Regions from separate parts of the Homo sapiens genome. Here all the other regions are linked to region 2. Evidence: promoter capture Hi-C in human tissues and cell types (Jung and others, 2019). All regions are on one chromosome and are shown on one strand. Each heading gives the region's core, a stretch centred on a gene start or on the middle of the fragment in contact. The rest is flanking DNA. Distances are from core to core; before and after follow the strand shown. Region 1 has its middle 46 kb from the start of LINC02513. Region 2 holds the start of FAM114A1 (family with sequence similarity 114 member A1). Region 3 has its middle 68 kb from the start of LINC02513.

Region 1 (2,700 bases), core at 92-2,591, 550 kb before region 2:
GCAAAACCTGGATCTGCGTTCCAAGGGTCTGAAATCCAAAGGGGCTTGGGGATTTCACGAGGTCTGAATCTAAAACTGAAGTTCTTTTCATTTATTGAACCCTTAAGGGAGACCTAACTTTAACTTATTTGGCAAAACTTTATTCAGGGAAGACTTTTATTCAATCTTTATTACAGAGTTTATTCTTCAAATGTAAAGAAAAGACTTAGCTTAGTGCCTTCCCCAGAGCAGTGGGAGAATTATGAAAGATGTACTATTGCTTTTTTTTTTTTTTTTTGGCAACCTCTCTGCTCTGCTGGCTTTCACCCTGGCCATCCCAGGACCGAGCTGGGGCGTTCAAGCTTGCCTCGGAGCCAGGCCTGCACTTCCAGCGTCAGGCAGTAGGGGGAGCAAGTGTGCAAGAGGAGGAAAGCGGCTCCAATTGGGCAGGAAACGTTTGAGACCATGTGTCCTTACCCGGCTCCGGTTGAAAATTTAATTTTTTTGGCTGCCTGAATGCTTAGGACCCATGGCTCCAGGCTTCTCTGCAAAAATTTATGCTTACTGATTTGTAGGGTGGGAAAAACCAGCCTCAGGGAGTTGTAGAAAAAGATTACATGTGTCCCCTGGATCAGAGGAAGTAAAAACCTCCACACGGTTGCTGGGGAAGGATCCAGGCCTCCTGGCCTCTGCCCCTATGTGAGGGGGAGAGGACGCAGAGGCCCGCACTATGGGCCGTCCTGGGTCCAAGCATCCCAGGACCTCCACCTGAAACCTGCCAGAGAAGACAGGATTTTGTACAGTCCCTAGCGAAAGAATTGGAATGTATACAGCAAAATGGGGAGAAACGTTTGTGTTTTTTCATTGTATCCCTGGCTTCTGGAACAGCGCAGGTGGCGGCCTGGCTTCTGGTACTCACATTGACAGAGCCTGTTAACTTAGGCTGCGCTTTGACAAGCTCCTTGAAGTCAGGTGGAAAAGAAACAAATGTCCTAAGCTTGAGCCTGTACTAGGTCTAGAATAACTTTAGAGTGCTGGCAGGTCACCTCTGCTCTGGGATGTAGCTTTCTCCCATTTCTTTCTCCATTACAACTTTAGTTTCTTAACCTGGGAAAGAAAAGTTTCAAAACTGCAGCAGTGGAGAACCCCGAGGGCTGGCTGGCAATAGTGTCATTCAAAGGAAAACAGAGAAGAACCAAAAGCTGATGTTTGCCTGCACTTTGGATTTGGATATAGAAGACAACTGATATTCTTTTTTTGATGGTGGTTATGTACAGAAAACGTTGGTCTTGGTTCCAAATACACATGAGATTTGTATTCTAATGCACCTGTTCCTGTGATTTTTTTTGTTTGTTTGTTTAAAATGGTGACTTCCTAGGGTATTTTTCTAGACCAGTAGAAAAGACGTTAACCAAAGCTTCCTGTAAAACTACCATTTAGGCATCTCTGCTTTCATTCTGCTCTGGGGTAAAAACTCCCTTCACTCTGAATAAGTTAGAGAAGTATTCAGAGTAGCTGAGATGGAAATGGATAAGATGTGGACCCACTAAGAGAGATGGCAATAATCTTTGGATCGCCACCCCTCACGGGATTTCCCCTAATATAAGATGATACCTGTGTATCATTGGTATATATCATCATAGAGGTATCTATGTATCTGCAATATAAAATGATATCTATATAAGGAACTTACAATCTTCTGGTACAGTTCTCACTTCGTATGGCCCAAGAACCCATCAGAAAATTTACCTTTTATTTGCAAACACTCTAGCACAAGTAATTAACAATTAACATTGATTAGTACCCTCTAGGTGCTAGGCATAGGAAATAAAGATAAAGACCCGCCCTTGAGGCTGGGCATTGTGGCTTACGCCTGTAATCCCAACACTTTGGGAGGCCGTGGCGGGCAGGTGGGGGAGCATCACTTGAGATCAGGAGTTTGAGACCAGCCTGGCCAACAAGCCGAAACCCTGTCTCTACAAAAATACAAAAATTAGCCGGGTATGGTGGCGCACACCTGTAATCCCAGTTACTCCAGAGGCTGAGGCATGAGAATCGGTTGAACCCATGAGATGGAGGTGGCAGTGAGCTGAGATCATGCCACTGCACTCCAGCCTGGGCGACAGAGCCAGATTCTCAAAAAGAAAGAAAGAAAGAAAGACCCACCCTTGAATAACTCACTCTGGTAAGGGAGACATCACATTCTAGGGTATGTGTGTTTCCATATGTAAATGACAGGGAGGAGTGTTTTGAGGAAGGAAGGCTCTGCTTGGATGAGGCAGTAGGTTCAGGGGCTAGGAGCCTCAATACTGGAGTCAGCCTGCCAGGATTGAATCCTGGCTCCACCATTTACTAGCTATGTGACTCTGGGCAAGTTTCTAGACCTAGCTGAGCCCCAGTTTTATTATCTATATGCTATAGGGAGAATCATGTTCCCTATTGCCATGGTTTTTTTTTTTTTTTTTGAGGATTCGGTGGGATGGAGCCAGTAATCACTCAATATGTGTTGGTGATGATAATGGTGATGATGATGGTGGAGGTGGAGGTGGATGAAATAGAGAAGGCTTGACTGAGGAATTCAGCAGGAGAAAGAGGGAACTGTGGAAGAGGGAAGAGCATTCTAGATGAGGCCTGGTATTCTGGGATTTAAGAAGCCCTCTAGGTGATTCTGATGCACACTAGGGTTTAAGAACCACAGAGTCATGGCAAGCTGTGGATTTT
Region 2 (2,700 bases), core at 140-2,639:
CAGTAAGCAGAGGCTGCAGTGAGCTGAGATCACGCCACTGCTTTCCAGCCTGGACGACAGAGCAAGACTCCATCTCAAAAAAATGAATTAATAAATTAATTAATATATATATGGAAGAAACTGGAATATAAGGAGCAAACTAATTGTCAATAGGAGAATGATTGAATGAAATATAATTACAAACATATTGCAATATATAAGACAAGTCTTAGAAGAGTGGTTTTGGTTGATATGTATTGACCAAGAAAGATGATTATAATATATAATAAATAGGGGGAAATTTACAAAATACGTCAACATCTCGCCATTTTTATAAAAAAGCAAACAAAAAGCTGTTTATGCATACATGTATTTATATAAGCTTAGAAAAACTATGGTAGGATCCACACACTATAAAAAATGGTAGTGATATTGAAAGGGAGAGACTAGGGCTATTTTTTCTTTAACTTTGAATTTATAATTCTTCAAAAAGAAGAAGGGATGGAGTGAGAGAGGAGAAAATCTGCCTTAAACACATCGCTCAGAAAGAATCACTATTTTTAAATTGTATTTCCTCCGACTTTTATAGAAAATACAAAATTGTTTACAAAACTAGTTAATACTATAAACACTGCGCTTCCTCCGCATCTGAGTTCATATTAAGCCATATTTGAGGAAGGCCTTCATATGTGGCCTTCCCTCCATGTCAACGAATCCTCATTTTTAAGGGCTACAACATATTCGATGTCTGAAGTTACTGTAGCTTACTTCACCAATCTTACTGGGGGACATTGAGATTGTCTCCGGCTTCCCCCCGCAGAAACAACTACAACAAACATCCTTGTACATACATATTTGCCCATTTGACTGCCTACTTAGGACAAATTCACAAATGTGGAATTCCTAGGCCAAAGCTAATACATCGGAGTTTTAACCCACAGCTCCAAACTGGCCTTCTGGAAAGTGGGTTTTCGTTGTTTGTTTGGGGTTTGTTTGTTTTAAATCTATCACACTCCCACCGACAGGGCAAGGGAGTGCTGCTTAACGCAGAATCAGGAGATCAAACTTTAGCTGAATTTGAGCGACCTCTTCCCAGTGACACGGCGGGGGGTTTTCCAAGCCCTTTTAAGGAAAGGAAAGGGATCTGGCGAACCCCGAGACCCACCCGCCCTGGGCTGGAGAGGCGGCGCGCTCTGGCTTTCCGCGCTGGCACAGGGGTGGGACAAGCCAAGTTTCCAGGAGACTCGCCCAGCGCGGGCCCGGCCCTCGCAGCGTGGGGGTGGCCGGGCGTCCCCGCGGCGCTCCTCGTGGGGCGGGGCGCAGGCGGGGCGGGGCCCCCTCTCCAGCCGCCCGCCCTCCGGCCGCGTCCCCGCCGGCCCTGCAGACGTGGCGGGGCGGGACCCGCTGGGCACTCCCGCGCGTACTCGGCCGCCTGAGCGGTAAGAGCCCCGGGCACTCGGTCCCCATCCCCTTCCCCGGGGGGCGGGCGAGCGCGGGGGCGGCTGCCCGGGGGTGGTGGGAACACCATACCTTGGCGCCTCGTCCGGGACCCACGAATCCTGCCCTCTGCGTTAGTGAGAAGCAGTGGTCAGGGAGGACCCGGCTCTGGGGTGAGGGTCTGGGGCGGCGCGGCCGAGGGACCTGCGTGGGTGCGGGCGTGTGAGTGTGTGTGTGTGAGTGTGTGTCGCTCCGGGTCCACGCTCATGCACACACCCACACGCCCACACTCAGGGTCTGCCCCCTCGGCCTGCGTGAACCTCCGCGGAGCCTGCCTGGATCTCCCAAAGTATCCAGTCCTGGCACCAAGCAAGTCTGGAAAAGTGCCCCCAATGGCTCGGGGCCAAGTCAGAGGTGGGCTGCAGGGTCCCCCAGCCCGGGCACGAAGGGAGCAGGTCCCTGTAAGACAGAGGCCTCGTCCCAGGGTGCGCCTGCCCTCGGCCTTGGCACAGGGAGCTCAGGCCTTGACCTCCCCGCTCCCCTCGCCTTACTCCTCCCCCAACAGCCGACCCACGCCCTGCCTGCTCTTCCAGTCCAGCCAACACTCTAAGCAGGCACCGCCTCCACTCGCAGCCCCCGGGATGGGTCCCACTCCCTACCGCAGATCCCCAGGCCCCCTCCACCCAGTCGGCTAGCCCTCGCCTCTGCCATCCGGTGAGTATTTCCAGGCACCTCAGACCAGGCGCCTGAACGTCACTGCCTTTTCTTAAGTAGGAAGACATCTCTCTATGGGCTGTGAGAGCATTACCTATGCCCTACTGATCCCATCATTTCCCATCCTAAACATCTTGAAGGACACAGGCAGGTGGCTTCTTAAATCAGTGTGCTCTGAACTCCCTGTGACCTCAGCCAACCTGTGACAACTGAGAATGAGACAGGCTCTATCCTCAGAGCCTCTTTTTGCCCTCTCTGCAGCCTAGTGGCTCCTTCCCTACCCCACCCATAGGCCTGCGTCCCCGCCCTCCTTTCTTCCATCAAGCCTGAGCTTGGGAAAGAATCTGATAAACTTCTTACATTGTAACCTTTAAGTGAAGGAATGAGACGTTAGGGATGGATTTGAGGCACAAGTGAGACAGTGCAGAAGGAATTTGAGGGTTGGAGGGGGCTTTCTTGAATCTGAGCGATTCAGACCATAAAAGTAAACTTGTCTTTGTTTATTTGACCAGGCTTACATCAAACATGGTTTCTCTTTTATTAATATCAAACACAATGTATTTCAATTCA
Region 3 (2,700 bases), core at 150-2,649, 570 kb before region 2:
TTTGTTCCCCTGGCAATCAGCCCTGATCCTGAGGTGATCCTGAAGCCCACTGAGTTGCCTCATTAGAACAAAAGATGCTCCTATCAAAAGATGCTCCTAAAAGGGATTTAGGAACTCTGCACTAGATGCTTCTATCACTCAGAGAATTACAAATTTCTTAGGAGCTCTATGGCAGAAGCCAGGGTCAAAGACAAAATATTTAACAAAAGATTCTCCTAGCATTCCTATCTAAAAAGACTTTAAGTGCTCTACATCAGGAAGTGGGTGCAAAGACCAGTATATATATTTCCTATTATTTTCACATTTGCCTTTAATTAGAATTCTGTATTGCAGAAATTCACACACATACATATGCTCACTATGCTGATATATGTAGAGTCCAATGAGAATAACAATAATTTCAGAAATGTCTGATTGCCAAAATCAGATACTATTTTTCTTAGACTTCAAAAATAGCGTTGCCATGATAATCTCTCTTTTCAAAGCATAGCTCTCATGCATTTTGCAAAGTTATTGGTGATCCTTAAACAATCATTAAGTAAGTGACTGAATCTAATGCTAGGTAAATATTTGTTGTTTAGAGTAAGATTGTGGAATAGAAATATCCAGCACTCATTCCCTCACATAAACATCAATTTGAGCAACCAATCATGCATGAAAATATCTTCACAAGATCTAAGAAACCCAGCTGAGAGACTACAGCACACGGCTGAAGCACAGAAATAAGAAAAATGCATTGAAGAGGGTAGGAAGGACATTTTCACATAAACTGCACCACCCCTTCTCTAAGCCCATGCAGCACAGTGCAGAGAGAGATTCCCTCCACGTGGAGGAATAAGCATGAATAAGCACCCAATTTTTCCATGGACTCTAGCACCAGGCCTGTCTCAGTGGACTCTAATACCAGGTCAGCTCCTGCAACCCCTGGCTCTAGGCTCACCCTGAAGACCCAGGCTCTAGGACAACCCTAGCATCAGGCCAGCCCCCTGATGCAGATTTCAGCAGACCCAGAGCCCAGGCTTGCCCTAGTAGACTTTGCAACCATGCCATTTCTTACAGACTCAAAACCAGGTTTACCCCTAAGGACCCAGGCACTAGGCCTACCTCAGCACTAAGTTGTCTTCTGCAGACCCTCAGGGCCACCCTCATGGGTCTAGTCACTAGGCCCATTCTAGTAGGTCCCAGTGCCAGGTTGGCTCCTGTGGACCCAGGCACCAGGACAGCCCACCTGAGGACTCCAACAGCAAGCACTCCCATAGACCCCACCAGCTGGCCTACCAAGAATTTCTGGACAGGTTAACTGGTGAAGAGTTTTTTATGCCAAAGTCAGTCTGTAAGTATTGGAAGAGATGCCTATTTCTTCAAATACATAGACACCAATACAAGGCCATAAGGATCATGGATTATCAGGGAAACATGACACCACTAAAGGAACAAAGTAAAGCACCAGTGATGTAGAACTACAAACTGCCTGACAAAGATTGCAAAATATTTATTTTTTAAAAGCTTAGTGAGCTATAAGGGAACACAAATAAATAGGTAAACAAAATCAGAAAAACAATATATGTACATAATGAAAAGTTCAACAAAAAGATAGAAATCATTTTTTAAAGTACCAAACAAAAATCCTGGAACTGAAGAATACAATGACTGAATTAACAAATTTCATAGACAGCTTCAACAGCAGACTCAGTTAAGCAGAAGAAAGAATTAGTGACCTGTAAAGGAGTTCATTAGAAATTATGTAGTCAAAGGAACAAAAAGAAAAAGAATAAAGATGTGTGAAGAAAGTCTATAGGACTTATGGGACACTGCCAAGTAAATCAATAAACACATTATGGTAGTCAAAAAAAGAAGCAGAGAAAGAGAAAGGGGAAGAAAGCTTATTTAAAGAAGTAATGATAGAAAACTTCTCAAATCTGGAGAAGAAAACGAACCTACAAATCCATGAAGCCCAAAGAACCCCAAGTAAATTAAGCAGAAAGAGATCTTCACCAAGACACATTATAATTAAATTCTCAAAAGTCAAAGACAAGGAGAGAATTTTGAAAGCACCAGGAGAAAAGCAACTTGTTACATACAAAAGAAGCCACACACAACTATCAGCAGAAACCTTGCAAGCCAGGAGAAAGGGGGATATATACTCAAAGTCCTAAAAGAACAAAAAAGCTGTCAATCAAGAATACTATATCTAGCAAAGCTATCCTTCAGCAATAAAAAAGAGATAAAGACTTTCCTATACCAACAACAACAACAACAACAAAAACACCTGAAGGAGTTTATTATTACTACACCTACTTTACAGGAAAAGCTACAGAGAATTCTTCAAGTTAAAATAAAAGGAGACTATCACCAGGAAAAATATGAAAGAATAAAACACTGTAAAGGTAAAAAAACAAAAAAAAAGTCAAATCCAGAATATTCTAATATCATATAGGTGGTATGTAAATCACTTTTAACTCTAGTATAAAAGTTAAAAAGCAAAAGTATTAAAAATAACAAAAGCTGCAATAATGTATTGATGAATACATAAATATCAAAGATGTAAATTGTGACTTCAAAAACAAAGTGTAGGAAGAGAAGTTAGAGTGTAGAGAGTTCTTGTATGCAGTAAAAGTTAAGTTGTTATCAACTTTAAAAAGACTGTTGTGACTATAAGATATTTTATGCAAGCATCATGATAACCGTAAAGATAAAATC

What was found. Contacts are between HindIII fragments. The study calls those that stand out against the background at their distance.
Region 1: a contact is called between a fragment that was not itself captured here and the fragment with the promoter of FAM114A1 in region 2, in 1 of the 25 tissues and cell types used here (lymphoblastoid cells).
Region 3: a contact is called between a fragment that was not itself captured here and the fragment with the promoter of FAM114A1 in region 2, in 1 of the 25 tissues and cell types used here (mesendoderm cells).

Annotation. Positions count from the first base shown.
Region 1 is chr4:38,319,625-38,322,324 of GRCh38, forward strand. No RefSeq gene overlaps it. Among named protein-coding and RNA genes, the nearest start is that of LINC02513, 46 kb to the right of the region's middle. The HindIII fragment of the contact is 3,401 bases long and covers 1-2,700 here.
Region 2 is chr4:38,866,417-38,869,116 of GRCh38, forward strand. FAM114A1 (family with sequence similarity 114 member A1) reads left to right here and starts at 1,390. Exons shown (of 15, transcript NM_138389.4): 1 at 1,390-1,418; 2 at 1,982-2,130. MIR574 (microRNA 574) reads left to right here and starts at 1,616; the gene lies at 1,616-1,711. It also overlaps a transcript of TLR6 not described here. RefSeq lists silencers at 1,154-1,633, 1,684-1,733 and an enhancer at 1,941-2,524. The HindIII fragment of the contact is 6,667 bases long and covers 1-1,784 here.
Region 3 is chr4:38,297,383-38,300,082 of GRCh38, forward strand. No RefSeq gene overlaps it. Among named protein-coding and RNA genes, the nearest start is that of LINC02513, 68 kb to the right of the region's middle. The HindIII fragment of the contact is 4,324 bases long and covers 1-2,700 here.